Regions from separate parts of the Homo sapiens genome. Here regions 1, 2 and 4 are each linked to region 3. The links are contacts of gene promoters, found by promoter capture Hi-C in human tissues and cell types (Jung and others, 2019). All regions are on one chromosome and are shown on one strand. The core of a region is centred on a gene start or on the middle of the fragment in contact, and the rest is flanking DNA. Distances in the headings are between cores, read along the strand shown.

The links. Contacts are between HindIII fragments. The study calls those that stand out against the background at their distance.
Region 1: a fragment that was not itself captured here is called in contact with the fragment with the promoter of PLEKHG3 in region 3 in 2 of the 25 tissues and cell types used here (dorsolateral prefrontal cortex and hippocampus).
Region 2: a contact is called between a fragment that was not itself captured here and the fragment with the promoter of PLEKHG3 in region 3, in 1 of the 25 tissues and cell types used here (thymus).
Region 4: a contact is called between a fragment that was not itself captured here and the fragment with the promoter of PLEKHG3 in region 3, in 5 of the 25 tissues and cell types used here (H1 embryonic stem cells, dorsolateral prefrontal cortex, heart right ventricle and 2 more).

Annotation. Positions count from the first base shown.
Region 1 is chr14:64,570,711-64,576,368 of GRCh38, reverse strand. PPP1R36 (protein phosphatase 1 regulatory subunit 36) reads right to left here. Exons shown (of 12, transcript NM_172365.3): 8 at 1,780-1,914. Among named protein-coding and RNA genes, the nearest start is that of PPP1R36, 24 kb to the right of the region's middle. RefSeq lists a silencer at 2,904-3,198 and an enhancer at 2,687-3,223. The HindIII fragment of the contact is 3,512 bases long and covers 1-3,006 here.
Region 2 is chr14:64,490,924-64,496,339 of GRCh38, reverse strand. The region is part of intron 1 of ZBTB25 (zinc finger and BTB domain containing 25); the gene reads left to right. Among named protein-coding and RNA genes, the nearest start is that of ZBTB25, 10 kb to the left of the region's middle. The HindIII fragment of the contact is 3,343 bases long and covers 1,213-4,555 here.
Region 3 is chr14:64,701,754-64,706,951 of GRCh38, reverse strand. It overlaps PLEKHG3 (pleckstrin homology and RhoGEF domain containing G3), which reads right to left and starts at 2,528. Exons shown (of 17, transcript NM_001308147.2): 1 at 2,248-2,528. RefSeq lists an enhancer at 3,748-4,249. The HindIII fragment of the contact is 6,175 bases long and covers 257-5,198 here.
Region 4 is chr14:64,539,610-64,544,824 of GRCh38, reverse strand. It overlaps HSPA2 (heat shock protein family A (Hsp70) member 2), which reads right to left and starts at 4,084. Exons shown (of 1, transcript NM_021979.4): 1 at 1,588-4,084. The coding sequence starts at 3,975. The coding sequence ends at 2,056. HSPA2-AS1 (HSPA2 and ZBTB1 antisense RNA 1) reads left to right here and starts at 4,457. Exons shown (of 4, transcript NR_110550.1): 1 at 4,457-4,508. RefSeq lists an enhancer at 3,940-4,049 and a silencer at 4,220-4,309. The HindIII fragment of the contact is 3,177 bases long and covers 883-4,059 here.

The sequences.
Region 1 (5,658 bases), core at 1-2,500, 130 kb after region 3:
TGGCTCATGCCCGTAATCCCAGCACTTTGGGAGGCTGAGGTGGGTGGATCACCTGAGGTCAGGAGTTTGAGACCAGCCTGACCAATATGGTGAAACCCCATCTCTACTAAAAATACAAAAATTAATCAGGCATGGTGGTGTGTGCCTGTAATCCCAGCTACTCGGGAGGCCGAGACAGGAGAATCACTTGAACCTGGGAGGCAGAGGTTGCAGTGAGCCGAGATCACACCATTGCACTCCAGCCTATGGGGACAAGAGCGAGACTTTGTCAAAAAAAAAAAAAAAAAAAAGATACTCAGTCAAATAAAACATCTTTAAGCTTTTTATACACCTTTAAACTATCAAAAATATTAAAGTAATAAAACCCAATGCAACCAGATATACTTACTGCTGATGGTAATACAAAATGTCTTAAACTAGGCCAGGCGCAGTGGCTCACACCTGTAATCCCAGCACTTTGGGAGGCCGAGGCGGGTGGATCACGAGGTCAGGAGATCGAGACCATCCTGGCTAACATGGTGAAACCCTGTCTCTACTAAAAATACAAAAAATTAGCTGGGCGTGGTGGCGGGCGCCTGTAGTCCCAGCTACTTGGGAGGCTGAGACAGGAGAATGGCGTGAACCCAGGAGGCGGGGCTTGCAGTGAGCCAAGATCGTGCCACTGCAGTCCAGCCTGGGCAACAGAGCAAGACTATGTCTCAAAAAAAAAAAAAACCCCAAAATGTCTTAACCTTTATAGAGAACAATCTAGCAGTATGTATCAAGAGCTACAAAACTGTGGCTTTCTAGGTAAATATACTGTGGAAAATAAGCCATAAGGAAATAGTCCAAATGAACAAAGAATATTCAATGCAGAAATATTATAACACACAAAAACTAAAATTATGCAAATGTACACAAAAAGAATGGTTAAGCAAATATGTATGTTACATAACAGAATCCTATTCAAAGTGGTAAGTGAAATCACATAGTCAGAATAATAAGAGAAAGTACCCAGGAAATACAGAATACAAAAATGTATATACCAACAACTGTGTAAGTATGCTCATTGACAAAGCTGGTCTTTGAAAATGTGGAGAATGTAGAAAGAGACACATCATGTACTAGGTTCTTTTCCTATGGGGGGAATAATTATTTTCCTATGGGGGAAAAAAACTGTTCTGGCTATGACCATGAGGTAGATCTGGGGCCTGTTGTGAAACTCAGAGAAGGAGATTCTGAGTTAAGGGTTGATGTGTTCGACCTTGTGATCCCAAACCTGTGATGAGACTCCTCTTTAAGTTTTAATTACAGTGGTGTAAAAATAGTCATCCTAAGGTAAAAATGATCTTCCCACAAAGAACCATCTTAGAATCCACACCTCAGCAGCTCCTACTCACAATTGTTGCTGCTGCAAAATAAGCAGTAAAAGGATAGGGAGACACCTAATCCCCCTGCACTACCGGCCCCACCAGACCTCCTGCCCAAGGGAGCCAAGTCTGGCAGCAAGAGCCCTTCCTGGTTGAGAGCAAGATTTCACTGAGAGACCATGTCATTCAATCTCAAGCAGTGGAAAGTTTTAAAAATATCCGCTGAGATTCTGAGATTTCTTCCACATGCACTTTGGTCTCTCAAAGGAGACATTACAAGGGTTTGGGACAGATTCTCACCTGAGCCCAATTACTCTGGACAACAGAAAAAGGAACATTTTCTCAAGGTAACAAAAGTCAAACGGAAGCATCTTAAGGATGTGAGTCTATGATGGAGTGATGATCTAATGAAGTGTAAGTATCTGCTTACTTTCCACAGCACATGTGATGCTTATCCGGCACGGCCAAGCCCAGCACAAGGATACAGTACTTCTGCGCCAAGTACCTCTGTGCTGCTTCTAATTCACTTAAAACCAATTCCATTTCTTTTTTCTCTACAAGGCCTCTGATGGGGAGGACAAAAAAAAGAGAATTTGGGTTAATTGTCATAAGTGCCTATATTAACTAGCAAAAAGTCAGAATTATAAACTTTTCTTCTTTTCTTTAAGACAGAGTCTTGCTCTGCTACCTAGGCTGGAGTGCAGTGGTGCGATCACAGCTCACTGCAGCCTCAACCTCCAGGGCTCAAGCAATCCTCCTGCCTCATAGGCGCATGCCACCATGCCTGGCTAATCTTTTTTTATTTTGTGTAGAGGCAGGGTCTCACTCTGTTGTCCAGGCTAATCTTGAACTCCTGGACTCAAGTGATCCTCCCCTTGGCCTCCCAAAGTGTTGGGATGGCAGGCGTGAGCCAGTGTGCCCAGCCATAAACTATTCTGAAAGAAATACAAGTGAGTCAACAGACTTCACTTACCAATGAGTTTATGTTATTTAAGCAATGGTATAGGAAAATCCTTAAAGTCCCTTCATATTTAATCATTGGAATCAGCATCTCAAGCTTATGGTGTATTTTTGCTTTTTTTTTTTTTTTTTTTTTTTTTTTTTTTGAGACAGAGTCTCGCTGTGTCGCCCAAGCTGGAGTGCAAGTGGCATGAACTCGGCTCACTGAGACCTCCACCTCCCGGGTTCAAGGAATTCTCCTGCCTCAGCCTCCCGAGTAACTGGGATTACAGGTGCCTACCACCATGCCTGGCTAATTTTTGTATTTTTAGTAGAGACAGGGTTTCACCATGTTGGCCAGGCTGGTCTTGAACTCCCGACCTCAAGTGATCCACCCACCTTGGCCTCCCAAAGTGCTGGGATTACAGGCATGAACCACCACACCCGGCCTATTTTCGCTTTTTTAATAGATTATGTTATGTATCCTCAATTTTATATGCAGGTAGTCCTAATTTATATAGAACAGCTCAATTAACAAATTATCTATACTGGTTGCTCAGGCGGTTAGCAGCCTACTTTCCTGCTATTTTCCTAAAACAACCGTGGAGGCTACGTACCTCAGCTTCCCCTGCGTTCCCTATGTCACTACTGAGCTTGGGGGCTCAACATGTGAACAAGGACCAACTCTCCATTTTGAGTGTAGCTGTGTTTGCTAAGAAGGCATCTGTGAACTACTACTCTGGGAACTTTGGCATCAGTTACAATAACACTGCTTCCCTGTGAAACCAGCTGCAGTTCCAATTGAATTGCAAATGAACTTTCACAAAGACAAACTGTTCTTAGGTTACAGCATGTCTGAAGCCAAATTTTAAGTTTCTGCTATACAATACAGTAGGAAATATTGCTGATGATACATTCCAATGTACTGTTATTGAAAAGTGAGTTGTACTCTTATGGAAAAGTGAGGTGTCACTAGACACCAAATGATATTTACTCTAAACAGGGACAAATGACTGCCCCTTCTGATATAACCATTGGACTGACTCCATGAAGTCAGCAAGAACAGTTATTATTATCCTTAATACAAAGACAAACTGTATTATCCTTAATACACCCCCTTCCCCTCATGGCATGGAGGATATAACCCAAACACACCCCTCCAGATGCACCCCAGTGGCCACACCCCTGTGCCTGTTTCCTTCAGCAGCTCCACCCTCACTGGTCACCCTACTCTGCCAGAGCTGCCAGTAGCTAATATTCTTCTTTTGCTGTAGAAAACAACCAAATCAAACTACAGCCACCAAGGAATGCCTTGAAGCTTTTAGGCCAATGCTTCTCAAGTTTTAATAAACCTATGAATTATGAAAGAATCACTGGGGATACTTGCTAACAGTGCAAATTCCCAGTGCAACCCTCTCTCCAAGATTCTGGCTCAGGAGTCTGGGTCTAGCCCAGGAAATTTAAAACAATCTTCCCAAATGATTCCAAGGCAAGTGGTCCCTAGACCCCATATGCACATATACATAAAGAACTGATGTGTTGAAATGGAAAAAAAAGGAAAAAGCTATGAAAAAAAAATACTCAAGAGAAGCTAACCTATATACAAAACTCCAGGCAGAGGTGGCCTGTTTGCACCACATTTCTGTGTCTGGAAACCATTCCCCCATACTGTTTTCATCTAATTTTGTAAAACTGCCTTAAATACAAAGCCAGTTAGTGGTTCACTTTTAAAGCACATTCTTTAAAAGTGCAAACAATAATGCTGACAAAATTTTGTTGAAACGGATGCGCTTATGCATTGCTTGTAACAGAAAATTGGCATAATCCTTTGGGGAAAAAAACTGAAAATAATTTCAAGAGCCATAGAAATTATCATAAATTTTGATCCAATATCATCTCTCCTGGAAATTTATTCTTTTAAAAAAATCATCCAAAATTAGGAGGAAACTTTTATGCATGAGGATATTCAATGCAATCATTATTTATATATCAGAAAAATTAGAAACTGCCAAAATATATAAAATAGAAGGTGATATGGTTTGGCTGTGTCCCCACCCAAATCTCATCTTAAATTGTAGCTCCCATAATTCCCATGTGTCATGGGAGGGACCCAATGGGAGGTAACTGAATCATCGTGGCGGGTCTTTCCCATGCTGTTTCATGATAGTGAATAAGTTTCATGAGATCTGATAGTTTTATGAGGGGTGTTCCCCTGCGCATGCTTTCTTGCCTGCCACCATGTAAGACATGCTGTTGCTCCTCATTCGCCTTCCACCATGATTGTGAGGCCTCCGCAGCCATGTGGAACTGTGAGTCCATTAAGCCTCTTTCCTTTATAAATTACCCAGTTGGGTATGTCTTTATTAGAAACATGAGAACAGACTAATACAGAAGGATAAAGGGAGCAGCAATACGGTCAGGTATTGTTTAAGGACTTGATGCTTATTAACCTAACTTATGAGTGAGTCTTCCACGAGATGTAACCCAAGCATCAAAATCTGTACCCTTAACCACTATAATATACTGCCTCTTAGTAGGTAAGTCAATTCACACACATTGGCTTGATGGAAAACTATGCTACCATTAAAAATTATAATTATGAAGATTATAGTAACTTGAAAGTACATATGATATTATGTTTAAAAGTACATACAGGCTGGGCACGGTGGCTCAGGCTTATAATCCCAGCACTTTGGGAGGCTGAGGTGGGTGGATCACCTGAGGTCAGGAGTTCAAGGTCAGCCTGGCCAACATGGTGAAACTCTATCCCTACCAAAAATATAAAAAATTAGCCAGGCATGGTAGCACATGCCTGTAGTGTCAGCTACTCAGGAGGCTGAGGCAGGAGAATCACTTGAACCCGGGAGGCAGAGGTTACAGTGAGCCGAGATTGTGCCACTGCACTCCAGCTTGGTTGATGGAGCAAGACTCCGTTTCAAACAAACAAACAAACAAACAAACAAACAAACAGTACATACATAATTGTTCAGAAGCTAAAAATTCTAATTACGGACAGATAAACTCTGGAAAACAGTGCAGTTGATTGGTGGGAAGTGCTGGGCATGTTGTACAGTGATTAAGGCACAAGCCTTGGAGTTAAACAGACCTGGGTTCTAATATCAGTTCCACCTAGGAACTGTAATGTCATCTCCTAGGTATGGTACGTAATCCCCAACAAACTATTTAACCTCTGTGAGCCTTAATTTCTTCATCTGTAAAATAGGGATAAGGCTTCTTCTTTTGGAAGTAGGGCTTTTAATCACCTGACATCAATTAAGTGTACCGTTGCCATCCATCTTCACCCTTTTCTGCTTTCCTCTCACGGCTGTAGGCTTTCCTCCCAAGTGCCATGCACTGGGTTAAGATACAC
Region 2 (5,416 bases), core at 1,635-4,134, 210 kb after region 3:
CTTTTTTTTTTGTATTTTTAGTAGAGACGGGGTTTCACCATGTTGGCCAGGCTGGTCTTGAACTCCTGACCTTGTGATCCGCCTGCCTTGGCCTCCCAAAGTGCTGGGATTACAGGCGTGAGCCACCGTGACTGGTCTGTAATACTTTTTAGAGTGTGAGTGGATCTTGAGACCACAGCTTTTTAGAACTGCTGATAAACAGTAATGGTTGAGTAGGGCTGCTCTGCCTATGGAGTAGCCATTCTTTTATTTATTTTCTAATAAATTGCTTTCGTTTAAAAAGAACACAATGTTGGGGGAGGGGGTAATGGTTGAATAGTTCCTATCAGGACAGTTTCCTGCAGATAACTATAAACTTGATACACTTTTTTTTTTTTTCCTTTTGAGATGGAGTTTCGCTCTTGTTGCCCAGGTTGGAGTGCAGTAGCGTGATCTCAGCTTACCGCAACCTCTGCCTCCCAGGTTCAAGCAGTTCACCTGCCTCAGCCTCCAGAGTAGCTGGGATTACAGGCATGTGCCACCACACCCGCTAATTTTGTATTTTTAGTAGAGATGGGGTTTCTCCATGTTGGCCAGGCTGGTCTCGAACTCCCGACCTCAGGTGATCTGCCCGCCTCTGCCTCCCAAAGTTCTGGGATTACAGGCATGAGCCACTACGCCCAGCTGATAAAAGTTTTAAAAATTAATAGATGGCATTTGAGAATTACAAAAACTAGATTGAGGTCTGCAACTGGAAGAGGAGAACAGCAATGAATAAGCTTCTGTTTTTATGGCTTTTAGACTGGCATAAGGTCCCAGCTGGTGATATGAAGAGGTGGCTACAACTGTAATAACAACCTGTAATCTCTCTTGAAGAAAAGAGGACAGAGCTCACAGTGATCATGCAGCTGGAAAGTGCAGGAGAAAATCCTAGAAAGAATGTTGGAGTGGCAGAACCCCAAACACTGTTTATAAACTCTGCTTGAATTTCTTGCAAACCCCTCAACTGTACATGTGTGGAGCAGCCTCCAAACAGCACACTTAAGGCTAAAGGAGCAGAGATTTCAGCTGCTGTCCACCATAGGGGAGGCAGAACTTGGAGTTTAAGTCCAGCTAAGGTAATTGTCTGCAAAAAACAAAAACACAAACACTCTTTGGAAGAATATTACAGAATCTAGAGTGAATTGTATTAATCACAATACCTAGACTATAATCCAGAAACAATCACCCTAATCAGTGGAGACTGACCCCATAATTAGCCAAAGGTTGGATTTAGCAGAGAAGATTTAAAGCAGCAGCTATTATAACTATGCTCAAGGATGTAAAGCAAAATGTTGTATATGTGAACAAATAGGAAATCTCAGCAGAGAATTAGAAACTTTAAAAAAGAATGAAATGAAAATTTTACATCTGAAAATACAATATCTGAAACAATCTTGAATAGATTTAACAGATCAGATATGACAGATAAGTCATTTAATTTGAGGATAGATTAATAGAAATTATCTAATCTGAAGTAGAGAAATAAGTTATTGTATATGAAAGTTCTCTGTAAACTTCAGTGCTCTATGTAAGTTTCAGAGTTTATTACTCCAGGTTTCTTTCATATGTAAAGGGAAGAGGTATGTTTGGGTCTTCTGATCTGCAGCTTCCTTAATGTCCTGTCCTGTCATGTCTGTGTCTAAGCTTTATACCCTCTGGTTTCTTTATTTTTATTTTTTTATTTTTTTTTGAGACAGAGTCTCGCTCTGTTGCCCAGGCTGGAGTGCAGTGGATCTCAGCTCACTGCAACCTCTGCCTCCTGGGTTCAAGTGATTCTTCTGCCTCAACCTCCCAAGTAGCTGGGATTACAGGCATGTGCTACCACACCTGGCTAATTTTTGTATTTTGAGTAGAGACGGGGTCTCACCATGTTGTTCAGGTTGGTCTCAAACTCCTGGCCTCAAGTGGTCCACTCACCTTGTCCTCCCAAAGGGCTGGGATTACAGGCGTGGGCCACTGCGCTTGGCCTAGCCTCTGGTTTCTAATATCCCCTGCAGTCAGATATTTGGCCCTTGCTGCTTTCCTGTACTATTGTCAGAGGTTACCAGGAATCTTTTGGTCAGTACACTCGACATGTTTGTAATGGGCCTCACCCCCATGTTTCTCTTCAGTGTTTTGCACCATTGCCATCTCCTTTCTGCAAGGTCATTGCCTTTCCTCAATGACGATGTTTTCTTTTTTCTCCTCCTCTGTCTTATTTTGTCTTTTCTGTTTTCCAAAGATTCATTCTTAGCTTTTTTCCCTCTTATTTCATTCTACTTTTTAGTCTACTTTATTATTTTCATACTTGGTTACTTCAGCCTTGTCGTTTCAGAGGCCTCTTCTCCCTCTCTGGCTCTGCTCTCTCTAGAGCCCTGTCCTGCTTCTTGTCCCCGCTGATCACTAAACATTTCTACTTAGATACCTGGTAGACACTTGGAGCTCAGAGTGTCTGAAGTGAAACCCCTATTCTTCTTCTTCTTTTTTTTTTTTTTGAGGTGGGGTCTCAGAACCTCTTATCAAGACGGTTTCTGTACTTCTTCTCTAATGTTCTGGGACTCTGCCTTTATATCAACACCTAGCACATGGCAGTTACTCTGAAAATGTAATCTGAAGGAATGGATGAATTCTTCCAATTACCCAAGCTGGAATTCTGAGACTCACCTTTGATTTGATCTCTGTGGTGACAAGTCATGTCAGTTTTGTGTCTGATGTATCTCTTGTATTCCTTCCTTCATTCCCACTGCGATTACTTTGATACCATAGTAGGCTCCTAGCCAGTCTTTCTCCATGCCTTTTCCCTTGCTAATATTTTTTATATGTTGCTGTTAGAGCAGTCTTTACTCACGCCTAATGATGGTGATGATGATAATGCCTAGTATTTATTAGGCACTAACTGTGGGCCCACTGTTTCTAAGTGCATTATATCATTAAATTCAAATAACCTATAAGTTAGATACTGTCATTGTCCATATTTTATAAGTGAAATGGAGGCCCAGAGAGTTAAGTGTCTTGCCAAGACCACGCAGCTAGTAAATGGCAGAGCTAAAATTTTAAGCTGTCTGATTTTAGTTCAAGCTTTAACTACCACGCTCTGTTCTCCCTCCCACAGAGTAAGTTAACTGATCATGCTGTTCTTACTCAAACATCTTACATAGTTCACTTCAAACACGACACTACTTTTTAGTCTTATATTCTGTATGCTTTTTGAACTGACCACATTTCATTATTTCTGTTACTTTTTTTTTCTATGCCAAGCTGAATCCTTCTGTTATCTAACTATTCATATTCTTCCCAGTAATTTTATTCATTTTATTTTTTCTGCCTGGCCTTGTTTCCCATCAAGTTGCCTGTGTTTATCTCCCTCTGATAGCATGTTCTCTAACTGCTCTGTGCTACTGAATGCATTTATTTCATATTATAATTATGGTTTGATGTTTTATCTTTCCTGTGAGCCTGTAATCTTGAGTGTAGCATCTTGTCATTTTTTTCTGTCTCCACGCCTTGTACAATGCAGGCTTTTACACATTTTTTCTTTATTAAATTGCTCTTCAAAAATATCTGTTGAATAAGTGAAGAATTTAACTGTTACCAACAGACCATTAACCATAAGATTCCTGTATGGGTGGCTTATTAGTGTGCTATGTCTCATTTCCCTATGGTTCAGTAGTTCAATATAATGGGAAGAACTGGTGAAAATGTTTATGATCCGAGGGTTTGGTTTTGTTTTTTTTTTTTGAGACAACTTATCAGGCTAGTTTAAGATGCTTCAATATGAACCATTTCATTGATTCTAAGACACGTTTTTCACATGCTGAAATTGTCAATACAGATTTTTAGTTTGTTAGGCCGGGCACGGTGGCTCATGCCTTTAGGAGGCTGAGGTGGGCAGATCACCTGAGGTCAGGAGTTTGAGACCAGCCTGGCCAACATGGTGAACTCCCGTCTCTACTAAAAATACAAAAATTAGCTGGGCATGGTGGCGGGCACCTGTAATGCCAGCTACTTGGGAGGCTGAGGCAGGAGAATCGCTTAAACCCAGGAGGCGGAGGTTGCAGTAAGCCGAGATGGAGCCGTTGCACTCCAGCCTGGTCAACAAGAGCAAAACTCCGTCTCAAATAATAATAATAATAATAATAATATAACTTGGGGATTATTCCACATCAGTACATTAAATATGTAGTTTTAATAGAGTCTGCCTTTTTTTTTTTTTTTTTTTTTTGAGATAGGGTCTTGCTCTGTCACCCAGGGTGAAGTGCAGTGGCATGATCATGGCTTACTGTAGCCTCAATCTTCCTGGCTAAAGCTATCCTCCTGTCACATCCACCCAAGTAGCTGGGACTAAAGCATGCACCACCGTGCCTGGCTAATTTTTGACACATAGGAAGCACTATAAAATGTTAGCTATATTTATTATATTACTGATCACTTAGCTGTCTGCTGCCCAAGCCACTGCCAATCTTTAGACGGCTAACCCTGCATTACATCACTGACCTCCTTAGACCTTGGTCTGGCTGGCTGGTGTGGAAACCTCATTCTCTTTTTCAGTGTCTGCTCTTTCAAAGGATGTTCTCCTGGCCACCCAATGATGCCCTTTATACTACAGCTACCTTCTGCCTAAAGTACCAGGGCTCTCTCCACAGTAGGGTAGAGAAGATGATGTACAGTCTGCCACCTGCCTGAAACCAGGGCACTTCTGAATGTTTTTGCTGCTTATACTCGGCTTCTTGGCCAGAATTCTGCATGTTCTTCCTCATATAGGCTTCCCCGCAGTTGTTCCACCTTGCCTTTTACTTCCTTTGGGAACCTACATTATAATATGCGTCTGAATCCAGTTGAGATCAGTTCTTTCTTTTGTGTGTGTGTGTGTGTTTTTGAGACAGAGTCTCACTGTTGCCCAGGCTGGAGTGCAGTGGTGTGATCACAGCTCACTGCAGCCTTGACCTCCCAGTCTTAAGTGATCCTCCTGCCTCAGCCCCTCAAGTAGTTGGGAGTACAGGTGCATGCCACCATACCTAGCTAATTGTTTTATTTTTTGTGGAGATGACGTTTCACTATATTGCTCAGGTTGGTCTCCAATACCTGGGCTCAAGCAACCCTCCTGCCTCATCCTCCCAAGGTGCTGGGATTACAGGCATGAGCCACTGCGCCAGCTTAAGTTCTTTCTCAGGAGGCTCTTGGGCCACAAGTAAATTGGGGATGTGGCTTGACATCTATTTTAAGAGTTCCTGAGCTACTGTGATGATAAGTCCCCCAAACATTTGATGAGAGTTGGGAAGCCAGTATCCCCTGAGCACCAGAGGATCCCTGAGGAGGAGTGACATCTCTAGCTCAGCCAGGATACCGTGTTATGTTATTAACATTTATAGCTAACATCGAATAGCAGTTTCCATTACAACATGATTTTCACATAAGT
Region 3 (5,198 bases), core at 1,279-3,778:
AACAGAGAATAGCCAGAGGGCTTCACTTTTAACCCTCCAAGGCCAGGGCGGCCTGGGCTTGTGGCAGCACCCCTGGCTTACAGCTGGAGCCTTCACAAGGTTCTGGGAGCTGGGAGAAGAGAACGGGCAAGGCATACCTCTGCAACAGAGGAGCCTTCCCCCTCCAGCCCTGGTCATCCCGCAGGCCGTGGCCTTTGGCCTCTTCCAGCGTAAACAGTGACCGTGGGATAGCTGCGGATTTGGTAAGGCAAATGTTTACTCTGGGGCTGAGATATTAAGACCAGGGTGTTTTAAACATCCAACAATGGCTCCTGGTATCTAACGTCTCCTTGTGGCACACACGTGGGACATAGCCAGCAAATTGTAAAACCCTTGGGAGACTCCCTCCCGAGCCACTGTGAGCCCTTTAGTTTTAACAGGAGTTTATGGAGCACTTTCCACAAATGAGGCTTCCTTTGATCCTCACCACAGCTCCTATGAGGAAGAGCAGGCAAGTAATCCCACTTTATTTATGTGGAAACTGAGTCAGAAAAGATAAGTGAATTGGCCAGATCATGTTGGAGAAAACACAGATCAGACAATGAGGACATCTGACCTCTGGTTTCTACTTGGCCAATAGGGTCTAAGGCTGAAATCACCTCACCCCTCTGGGCTCTGCTGCCTTCACGAGTAAATGAAGTAGGCTAATCCAAGGGGCCCCCCAGCCCAAGTGACTCGCACTCTTCAACTCTACCAATCTTCCATGCTATGCAGAAGAGCCAGGTCTAAAACTCAGGCATAAACCCGTGCTGGACTATCAGGCCAGTGCTCTTTCCACTTCCCCTGCCATGCCACTTCTAATAAAAGGCAGTAGAAAAGCCCCCAAAGCAGCTCTTCAACAAATCACTCCCTCAGCAGCTAGGACTTGGCCTCTGGGTACCTCTTCCCCCAACTTCCTGCCCCATCCCCAGGGCAAGTTACCCAGGGAGCTAATGGGTTGTCCTATCTTCCAGGAAGGGAGTGGAGGACAGCAGGTGTCGAAAGGAGAAGTGAGGCCATTGCATCCAGGGGGCCAGCCCGGAACCACAGGGGAGAGATGTATAACAGAGAGATAAATGTACACTTTTGGTTCTCACTCCCTAGTTTCCTCCTGGGGAACAGCTGGGGTTTAATCACTCAGGATCCCATCCTTGTCCAACAAAGGATGGCCCGGAAAACCACACTGCTGAAGGCGAGGTGGCCGATGTGCTCAACGGGGAGGCCCTCCCCCGCTCCGGACTGTCATTGCCCTCCCTGCTTATTATTTCTTGAGCAAGGGCCATGTGACTGGGCTGCGTGCAGAGGCACGGCTGGGGAGACTCTGGGAACCCCCACTCCAGGGTTCCCCGTAAGGTGAACGCAGTGTGGGTCTCCTGCTGGGGCCCCCAGAGCAGGGGACAGGCACCTACATATGCCAACAGATTAGCGAGTGACCTCGAGGATCAAACTCTTTCGCGGCCTCTAACAACACCCTCCCCAAAAGCCACACCTCTCCAGCCTCCAACCATTCCATTCTCCCCTCCGTTCTTCCTTTTGTGTTCCAAAGGCGCCCCGAAGAGTCAAAGTAGCTATTTAACGCCTTAAAAATTTAAGCTTGCACGCCTTATACTGGCTTTCCAAACCAAAGGGCTGGGTGTAGGGGTGCGAAGAACCAAACCGACTTCAGGAGTGGACGAGGTCGAGGCAGCTGGTGGCCGGGCTTTCCGCTCCCCGCTTCTGGCCCCCACTCTCCTCCCTGCCGGACAGGTAGCCGAGATTCCCAACAGCGAGCACCGTGCGGCGCCAACCCGGAACAGGCTGCAGGCGCCTCCGGGGCTGGCAGGAGCCGAGGCTCGGGTCCTCGCGCAGAAGGGTCCACCCGCCAGGCCCACAGCTCCAGCCAAACACCAGCCCTCGGGCGCGCGCGGCCTCGCGGGCTTCCTGGATTTCAAACTGAGCCTCTCTGGAGCCGCCCGGCGCATTTGCCCCTTTTGTTTCCGGAGTGGAGGGAAAAAAAGACAGAAAAAGTCTCCCCATACGACCCTCCTGCGCTCGCGCACTCTGCGGCAGGGTGGCCCGGGAAGCAGCCAACACAGTTCCAGGCCCTCCTCGGTCGCCCCGGTCCTCACCCCGCAGGGGGCTGGCACGGGGGCCGCGAAGGGACTGGGGCCCCAGCGTGACTGCCGGCACCGCCGCTCAGCCTAATGCAGGGAGATAAGAGGGGAGAGAGGAGAATCAGGGGACACTCACCGAGCGGTAGCTGCCCCGCGGGCTCGGGACGCGCACGGCGTGCGGGGCTGCCCAGGTGCTGCCGCGACGCGGGCGCGAGTTTGAAAGTCGCTCTCTGAAGGGGCTGAGGCCGCCGACCGCTCCCGCCCACCGCCAGCCCCTCAGCTGGCCCGGACTCGGCCAGCTGCAAGCGCGGCCCCCGGAGACCCCAGGCAGCGCGCGGCTTGCCAGCGCCCGGCAGGAAGTCGAGCGGAGCCGGAGCTGCAGCGGGAGGGCAGGAGGGAGCGAGGGAGCGAGGGAGCGAGGGAGCGAGGGAGCGAGGGAGCGAGGGAGCGAGGGAGGGGCGGGCCAGGAATTTTTCCTGTGGGTGGAGACTCCAGCTCGCGGCTGCAGTCCAGCAATTGGCGGCTCTGCGGGGGCCGGGGCAACCTTCGCGGCGCGGCGAGCCAGAGCCGGGGTAAGGCTGCGGCGGCGGCGAGGCCTGGGCGCGGTTAACGATTAACGCCCGCAGGGTGATGAGCGCGCACCCCCGGGCAGCCTAGATGCTCTAGGATACCAAGACGCACGTGGTGGGGTCACCCTGGTGTCACAGACCTGCTATCACCGCCTCCCGAGACAGCATGGACTGCCAGAACGTACCCCTTGTATGGACAGGGAACACCGGGCCCTGCGAAGGGGGCTGAGGGCTTTCCCAAGTGAGTGACCAGCCGGGATCGATCTGGGGATCCTAATCCTACCAGAGCCGGCCGTGTCCGCTTTTCCAAGTCAGAAAGGCATGTCTTGAATTCCTCACCATAACTCGGTCCCTGTGACGCTTTACAGTGGTAAATGCAGACCTCTGAGAAGCTGACGGGAAAGAGATAAAGGAGACAACGTGAAGGCAACTCCACAAGGAACTGTTAAATAGGAAAAATAAAACACAGAAACCTGGATGATAGAGGACCCGTTTTTATAAAACAAAGAGAACCGTTTGTCTTTATGTCTCTGTATATGACCGTGTATGCATGGAAAGGTACACACCTGGAAACTGGGGGGCAAGGGGTGAGGATGGGGGACAGAGACATTCAATACATTTTGAGCAAGAGCATAAATCCAAAAACCCATAATAATTCATCAGTAAAGATCCTGAAGAACAACAAGCCCGGAGGAGGGAAGCCCAGAGTGGGGCTCCGGAAGAGGAACAACGCCCACTGGTTAGGCGCTATCACTAGTTCCTTGGGAGGAGGAATAGGACGCTGATATTAGAACCACGGGGTATATTTGTTATCCAGGTGTACAGCAAACGATTTCTAGAGGTATCATTTAAAACAAAACAAGCGCCCGCCCCAAAATGCTGCTCTGGGCAAATGCAAGCTCCAGGTGATCTACTGGGAGGGGAGAGGCGGGGCAGGCGCGGAAGGAAATGGCTTTCAGGTGACTTTGAAACTGGATCCTGGCGGAGGGTGGGGTGAAGGCAGCGTCCCGGCTCCTGCCTGCGGAGGAAGCGGTAGGCGCTCGGTCTGGCAGGCCCAGAAAGCGGGGCCCACATTCCTTAGGGAGGGAGGGTGTGTTGGAGGCTTGCAGAGCCCCAGACTCGCGGACCGTGAAGGTGAGAGCAGAGATTGCAGAAGAGGGGCTCGGAAATAGATCAACTTAGTTGGGGCTCCGCTAGACCCCGCCGGCCAGGGGAGAAGTGACAAGTCCCCCTTCTGGCCTTCCAGGACTTGTGGTCACCCCTTCCAACCTCAGGCTTTCACCTTTTTTTGTTTATGCTTTCTTATCTGATCACCTGAATCTTACGAATGCCTTCCGGTCCGCTTCAAATTCCAGCTTCCAAAGAAGCCCCCTGACTTAGCCACTTGTGAGCGACCCTTCACTCCTTAGCCAGGACACGTTACAGTGTTAGTGGCAGTCATAACTGTCCTTTAGTGAATGCTTACCATGCAGAGGGCCTGTGCTACACTCTTAACAAACTGTGTCCCTGGATCCTCACAGCCACCTTGCGAGGTAGGAGATATCCTAATCCCCATCTTGCAGACAGAACACTGAGGCTTAGGGGCAAGGAGCAACTTGGCAAAGATTACACAACCAGCAAAAGCAGTGTCGGGCAAGTGCCTAGATGGGTGTGTGCTTACTATGAGTGTGCTTACTATGTATTAGCCATTCTTCTAAGTACTTTACAAAAACAATTGCAGTAACAGAAAAGGAAACTGAGGCAAAGTCACACAGCTAGTGGGTGGTAGACCTGGAAGTCATAACAGGGAATTCTGCCCTTCACCATCACTGCTTCCAGTTTCTTTCTGACACTTGTTATGCCCAATTCACTTGATTATAATATATTGTTTCTATTAATAATTGTTTTAATTTATATCACCTACTTCCTAAAAAGATTGTAATCTCCCTGTGGTAGAAGTCATATAGGAAGCACTCAGTAAAACAATGCTGAATTCAACTGAAACAATCTAAAGAGTTTGTGAGAAATCGCACAGTCTCTCCTCCGATAATAAAACCCTGTGTCAAGGGCCAGGGGCTCCAGGCTGCAGCCCCTCCACAGCTCGGAGCCTCTTCCTACCAGTTCTTGTTGCAATGGCCTCACCCTGCTATTAAATCATTTATTATTATTATAATACCTTGTGTCTCAGCAATGCCTTTAATCCAAGATCTCAAGGTGTTCTAACAAATACAGGTGAACTCACTTTCACAGTACCCCAGCTGAGATGAGGAGATGGAGGTATTTTCCCAACTGTTTGGATGAGAAAACCAAGACAACAGAGAATTGAGATGATTCACTATGGAAATTAGTGGCAGGGTTTACTCCCCCATCTCTTCCCCTCCTCCTTCCTAATTCTTGGCTGCCAATACTTGCATGAAAATTTCAAATCCCAGAGACAAAAGCCATTGAGTTTTCACAATAAAGGACATTTCCAGACTGTCATTTCAGCTGCTCTATTGTGGCAGACCTCAGGAGAGGGAGGGAACGTAAGCCTAGTAAA
Region 4 (5,215 bases), core at 1,222-3,721, 160 kb after region 3:
AGTCATACCAAACTGCATTTACAGAAGGACTCCATTATATTTTGAAGTTAGAGCAAGGAATGAACACTTTCAACAAATAAAGGACTAATAAAAGGGTAACAGAATGGGTATTATCTTGGTAAAACTCACAGTAAACGTCACTCTAAAGCTACAATTAACCTGATTTTGTAGTACCATAGTAGTTTGTCACATATTTATGCCTGTAGTCCATGAAACACCCTTAAATGCTCATTGCTGAAAAATTTCCACCAATGTGACACCAGCACTGATAAATTGGAGTTATCTTTAGCTTTTCAGAGTATAAAAAGCAGTTTCCTTTAAAAAAAAAAAAAGGTTTTTATGTTGAAGCAATTTCACTGTTGGCTATTTATCTTCCTCCCCCCTACCCAAATGAGGCTTGCTAAAAAGGAAAAAAAAAAAAACACCTTATGTGTACTTAAGAGTCAACTCTTGTATGAAAGGGTCATTACCAAAGGCCAGTATTCTTAGGCTAACTTCTTAGCTAGTTTTAAAATTATTACTCATTCCATTATTCATAAAATTAATCTCTCTGAATGACACAGATGGGTCCACTACTAAATTGAAGATAAAGCTTTCATAACTATTGTCTTATGAGCAGCATGAAGCAAACCTGCATCATGTGGAAAGATATCAAAACGTCTATGTGCAGTAAAAACATTAGGTTAACTATGCATTTTCCTATTGGTTTTACTGAATTTCTCTCAAGTTCTCCTTAAAGAGAGTAAGAAAAGAGTAGTCATGTCATTTCACTAAAAAATAAAAATGAATTCCTTTCTCTGAAGGATGTGAATTTTAAAGATTAAGTCCAGGATAGTGGATCACCAAAGGGTTGCAATATTCTTATCTATAACAATCTCAAATTGGATATGGAGGAAAATGGACAAGTTGTATATTAACAAAATACAAGACTATCTAGTACAGTTTGCCTTTTAAAAAAGAAATCTATCGTAGTGATTTAAGGCAAGTATTGCAAAAACGTTATGATCCCCAAACCAGAAAAAAATAATAATAATTATGTTTCCCTACCCAAGTAATTCTAACTGCGGGAAACATGTTATTAGAATTTGCCATAAGCTCAGAAGTTGAGCTGTTTTACTAGAAAATTAAACAAGTTTGACTAAATTTATACTCACTATTAAGTCACTTGAAAGCTTGCCTGCTGTCTCTTGTTTCAGGCTCCTGTATGTCACAAAATTAATTTGTTTCCATATTTCCTTTGGCAATTATAAGACAACTTCTGCCCAGCTTTTGTTAAAGGCTCATTTTACATTTAACCCCAGAATATAGCTCATATTTTCCTGGAATATTCAGGTGAATTTTCATTTGGACACTTAAGTTGTAGGAGTGTGAGTACACTAGGAAGACCCCAAGTCAGGTTTCTGTATTTAAGGGTGGGTGAAGTTTACCCAGATTCTTCTCCCCTTAAGTTGTTGGAATTCAAGGCAGCACCCTCATCTGGGAATTAAACAAGATTGGTTAGATAAATTTCACATCATACTAACATCTTAAAAGACGAATATGGGTAAAATATAAAGGAAGGAAAATTGAAAACTCCAAGACAGTAACTTTGAGATCAATTTCAGCTTTACTTTACATTTGCATTTATGCATTTGTTTGCAAAAAGTATACCTGTCCTTAACATTACTGCAATGTTCAGTTTAGTTTTAAAGTAGTACATAAAAATAAACAATTTAAGCTCCTATATATTTTACTGTTTCCAAGCTTCTACAGAACAGGTGTGCAAACTTAAGGTTTCTCATCTCAAACAAATCTCCATGCACGAACTAATCAAAAATGCTCAAGTCAGCAAACACGCAAAATGCATTAAAGAGAAACCTCGAATAATGTTTTTAAAAAACAAACTTTGGAACTTTTATAATTAAACTAAGTTGTTGCACCTCTCCTTTCATTTGCATATACCAAAGACTTCCAACAATAGATCTCGTACTTGGCACAAGGACATTTCAAAGAAACAAACAAAAAAAAAGAGAGAGAGAGAAAGGCAAAGAGGTTTACGCTGACTTGAGTGCAAGCTTAGTCCACTTCTTCGATGGTGGGTCCCCCGGAGGCTCCTGAACCGCCGCCGCCGCTGCCGCCGCCAGGACCACCTTGGTAAAGTTTGCTGATGATGGGGTTGCAAACTCTTTCGAGCTCTTTCTGCTTGTGTTCATACTCATCTTTCTCTGCCATCTGGTTTCGGTCGAGCCAGTTGATCACCTCCTGACACTTGTCGAGGATCTTGTTTTTGTCCTGCTCGCTAATCTTGCCCCTCAGTTTCTCGTCTTCCACCGTCTGCTTGATGTTGTAGGTATAGGACTCCAGGGCGTTTTTGGCCGCGACTCGGTCGCGATTCGCCTCATCTTCCGATTTGTACCGCTCCGCCTCCTGCACCATCCGGTCAATGTCGTCCTTGCTCAGACGACCTTTGTCATTGGTGATGGTGATTTTGTTTTCCTTACCGGTGCTCTTGTCGGCGGCGGTAACGTTAAGGATGCCATTGGCGTCAATGTCGAAGGTAACCTCGATTTGGGGGACCCCGCGAGGCGCAGGGGGAATCCCGGTCAGGTCGAACTTGCCCAGCAGGTTATTGTCCTTGGTCATGGCCCGTTCGCCCTCGTATACCTGCACCAGTACGCTGCTCTGGTTGTCCGAGTAGGTGGTGAAGGTCTGCGTCTGCTTGGTGGGGATCGTGGTGTTCCTCTTGATGAGTGGGGTCATGACACCGCCAGCTGTCTCGATGCCCAGCGACAACGGGGTCACGTCGAGTAGCAGCAGGTCCTGCACATTCTCTGATTTGTCGCCGATGAGGATGGCCGCCTGCACCGCGGCGCCATAGGCCACCGCCTCGTCGGGGTTGATGCTCTTGTTCAGCTCCTTGCCGTTGAAGAAATCCTGCAGCAGCTTCTGGATCTTGGGGATACGAGTGGAGCCGCCCACCAGCACGATCTCCTGGATCTGGCCCTTGTCCAGCTTGGCGTCGCGCAGCGCCTTCTCCACCGGCTCCAGGGTCCCGCGAAAGAGGTCGGCATTGAGCTCCTCGAAGCGGGCGCGCGTGATGGACGTATAGAAGTCCACGCCCTCGTAGAGCGAGTCGATCTCGATGCTCGCCTGCGTGGACGAGCTCAGGGTGCGCTTGGCGCGCTCGCAAGCGGTGCGCAGCCGCCTCACGGCGCGCTTGTTGGGCCCAATGTCCTTCTTGTGCTTGCGCTTGAACTCCTCCGCCAGGTGGCTCACCATGCGGTTGTCGAAGTCCTCACCGCCCAGGTGGGTGTCGCCGGCCGTGGACTTCACCTCGAAGATGCCATCCTCGATGGTCAGGATGGACACGTCGAAAGTGCCACCGCCCAGGTCAAAGATGAGCACGTTCTTCTCGCCGCCCGCGCAGCCCTTCTTGTCCAGGCCGTAGGCGATGGCCGCCGCCGTGGGCTCGTTGATGATGCGCAGCACATTGAGCCCCGTGATGGTGCCTGCGTCCTTGGTGGCCTGGCGCTGCGAGTCGTTGAAATAGGCCGGGACCGTTATGACCGCGCTGTGCACCTTGCCCCCCAGGTAGGCTTCCGCGATCTCCTTCATCTTCGTGAGGACCATGGAGGATATCTCCTCTGGGAAGAAGGTCTTGGTCTCCCCCTTGTACTCTACTTGCACTTTGGGCTTGCCTCCCTCGCTCACCACCCGGAACGGCCAGTGTTTCATATCCGACTGCACTGTGGCATCCTCGAATTTCCGTCCAATCAGCCTCTTGGCGTCGAAGATGGTGTTGGTGGGGTTCATGGCCACCTGGTTCTTGGCGGCGTCGCCGATGAGGCGCTCGGTGTCCGTGAAGGCCACGTAGCTGGGGGTGGTGCGATTGCCCTGGTCGTTGGCGATGATCTCCACCTTGCCATGTTGGAAGACCCCGACGCACGAATAGGTGGTGCCCAGGTCGATGCCGATAGCCGGGCCACGGGCAGACATCCTGACTGAAAGGCGAGCGACGTTAGGACGGGAAAACCAGGGAGATGAACTCCGCGGAGTCAACTAACGGCCACCTCGAACCAAGCACCACGGGCACTACCAGCAACTCAGCTCCCCGCGCCCAGTTCCCGGTTCTTATAGCCGCCTCTGGGAACTCCCAGACCCAATCCGCTCCCGGGACCGCCCTCACAAACTCTTCCAGCTCCACCACAGGCTTGCCTAGGTCGGAGTGACTGGCCCGTGACCCAACAGATTTCAAGTTGGACGAGGGGCGGGACTCCGGCCCCCGCCAGGAGACAGAGGGGCGGCCGTTATGTAAATGAGGTTCCTCCCTGACTCTCGGCCGCCAGGCCGTGGTGCCTCGCGCGCCTCCTGCTGCTGGCTGGCGTTAGGCGCGCGCTCCCAGAGCCAGGTGTACGCGCTTTTTCGCGGTCTTTGCCCTAGCCGACGTGCATCGGATTGGCAGGGCACGCGGCCAATGAGCAGTGCGGACTGAGGCGCGGCACGGGGAGGAGGCGTGGAAGGGGATCCCGGTGAGGAGAGCCACTGGGAGAGTTCGCTCAATTCCTGAGGTTTTAAATGCAGTTCACTGCTAGGGTGCCGACTCACTGAGCACGCAGGGGCGGAGGAATTCATTCTGAGTTGGTTGCACCGAAGAAATAAAGCTCGAGCAGCTTGTTTTCCCCGGCGCCGTCCAAGGGGAGGGAATAGGGAATTGGGGTGGCTGGGGTGGGGGGTGAGGGCGGATCCCTTGGACGGGGATTAAAGAAAAGAAAAAGTCTGAACCGGCGGTCGGCCTCCTGGGATTTTATGGTGGGTGCTTCACTGCGTCTCAGTGGTTGTGAGCGCTCGATTAAAACTGCCTGGCTGGGGCCGGGCGCAGTGGCTAACGCCTGTAATCCCAGCACTTGGGAGGCCGAGGCGGCCGGATCACGACGTTAAGACATCGAGACCATCCTGGCCAACATGGTGAAAGCCCGTCTCTACTAAAGATACAAAAATTAGCTGGGCGTGGTGGCGCGTGCCTGTAGTCTCAGCTACTCGGGAGGCTGAGGCAGGAGAATCGCTTGAACCCGGGAGGTGGAGGTTGCAGTGAGCCGAGATCACGCCACTACACTCCAGCCTGGGCGACTGAGCGAGACTCCGTCTCAAAAAAAACAAAAAAAAACCCCACTGCCTGGCGGGCGGAGAGAACCTGAGCCCAGGGCGAGGCCGACCGTTTTCCCGCGCCGCGTGAGGG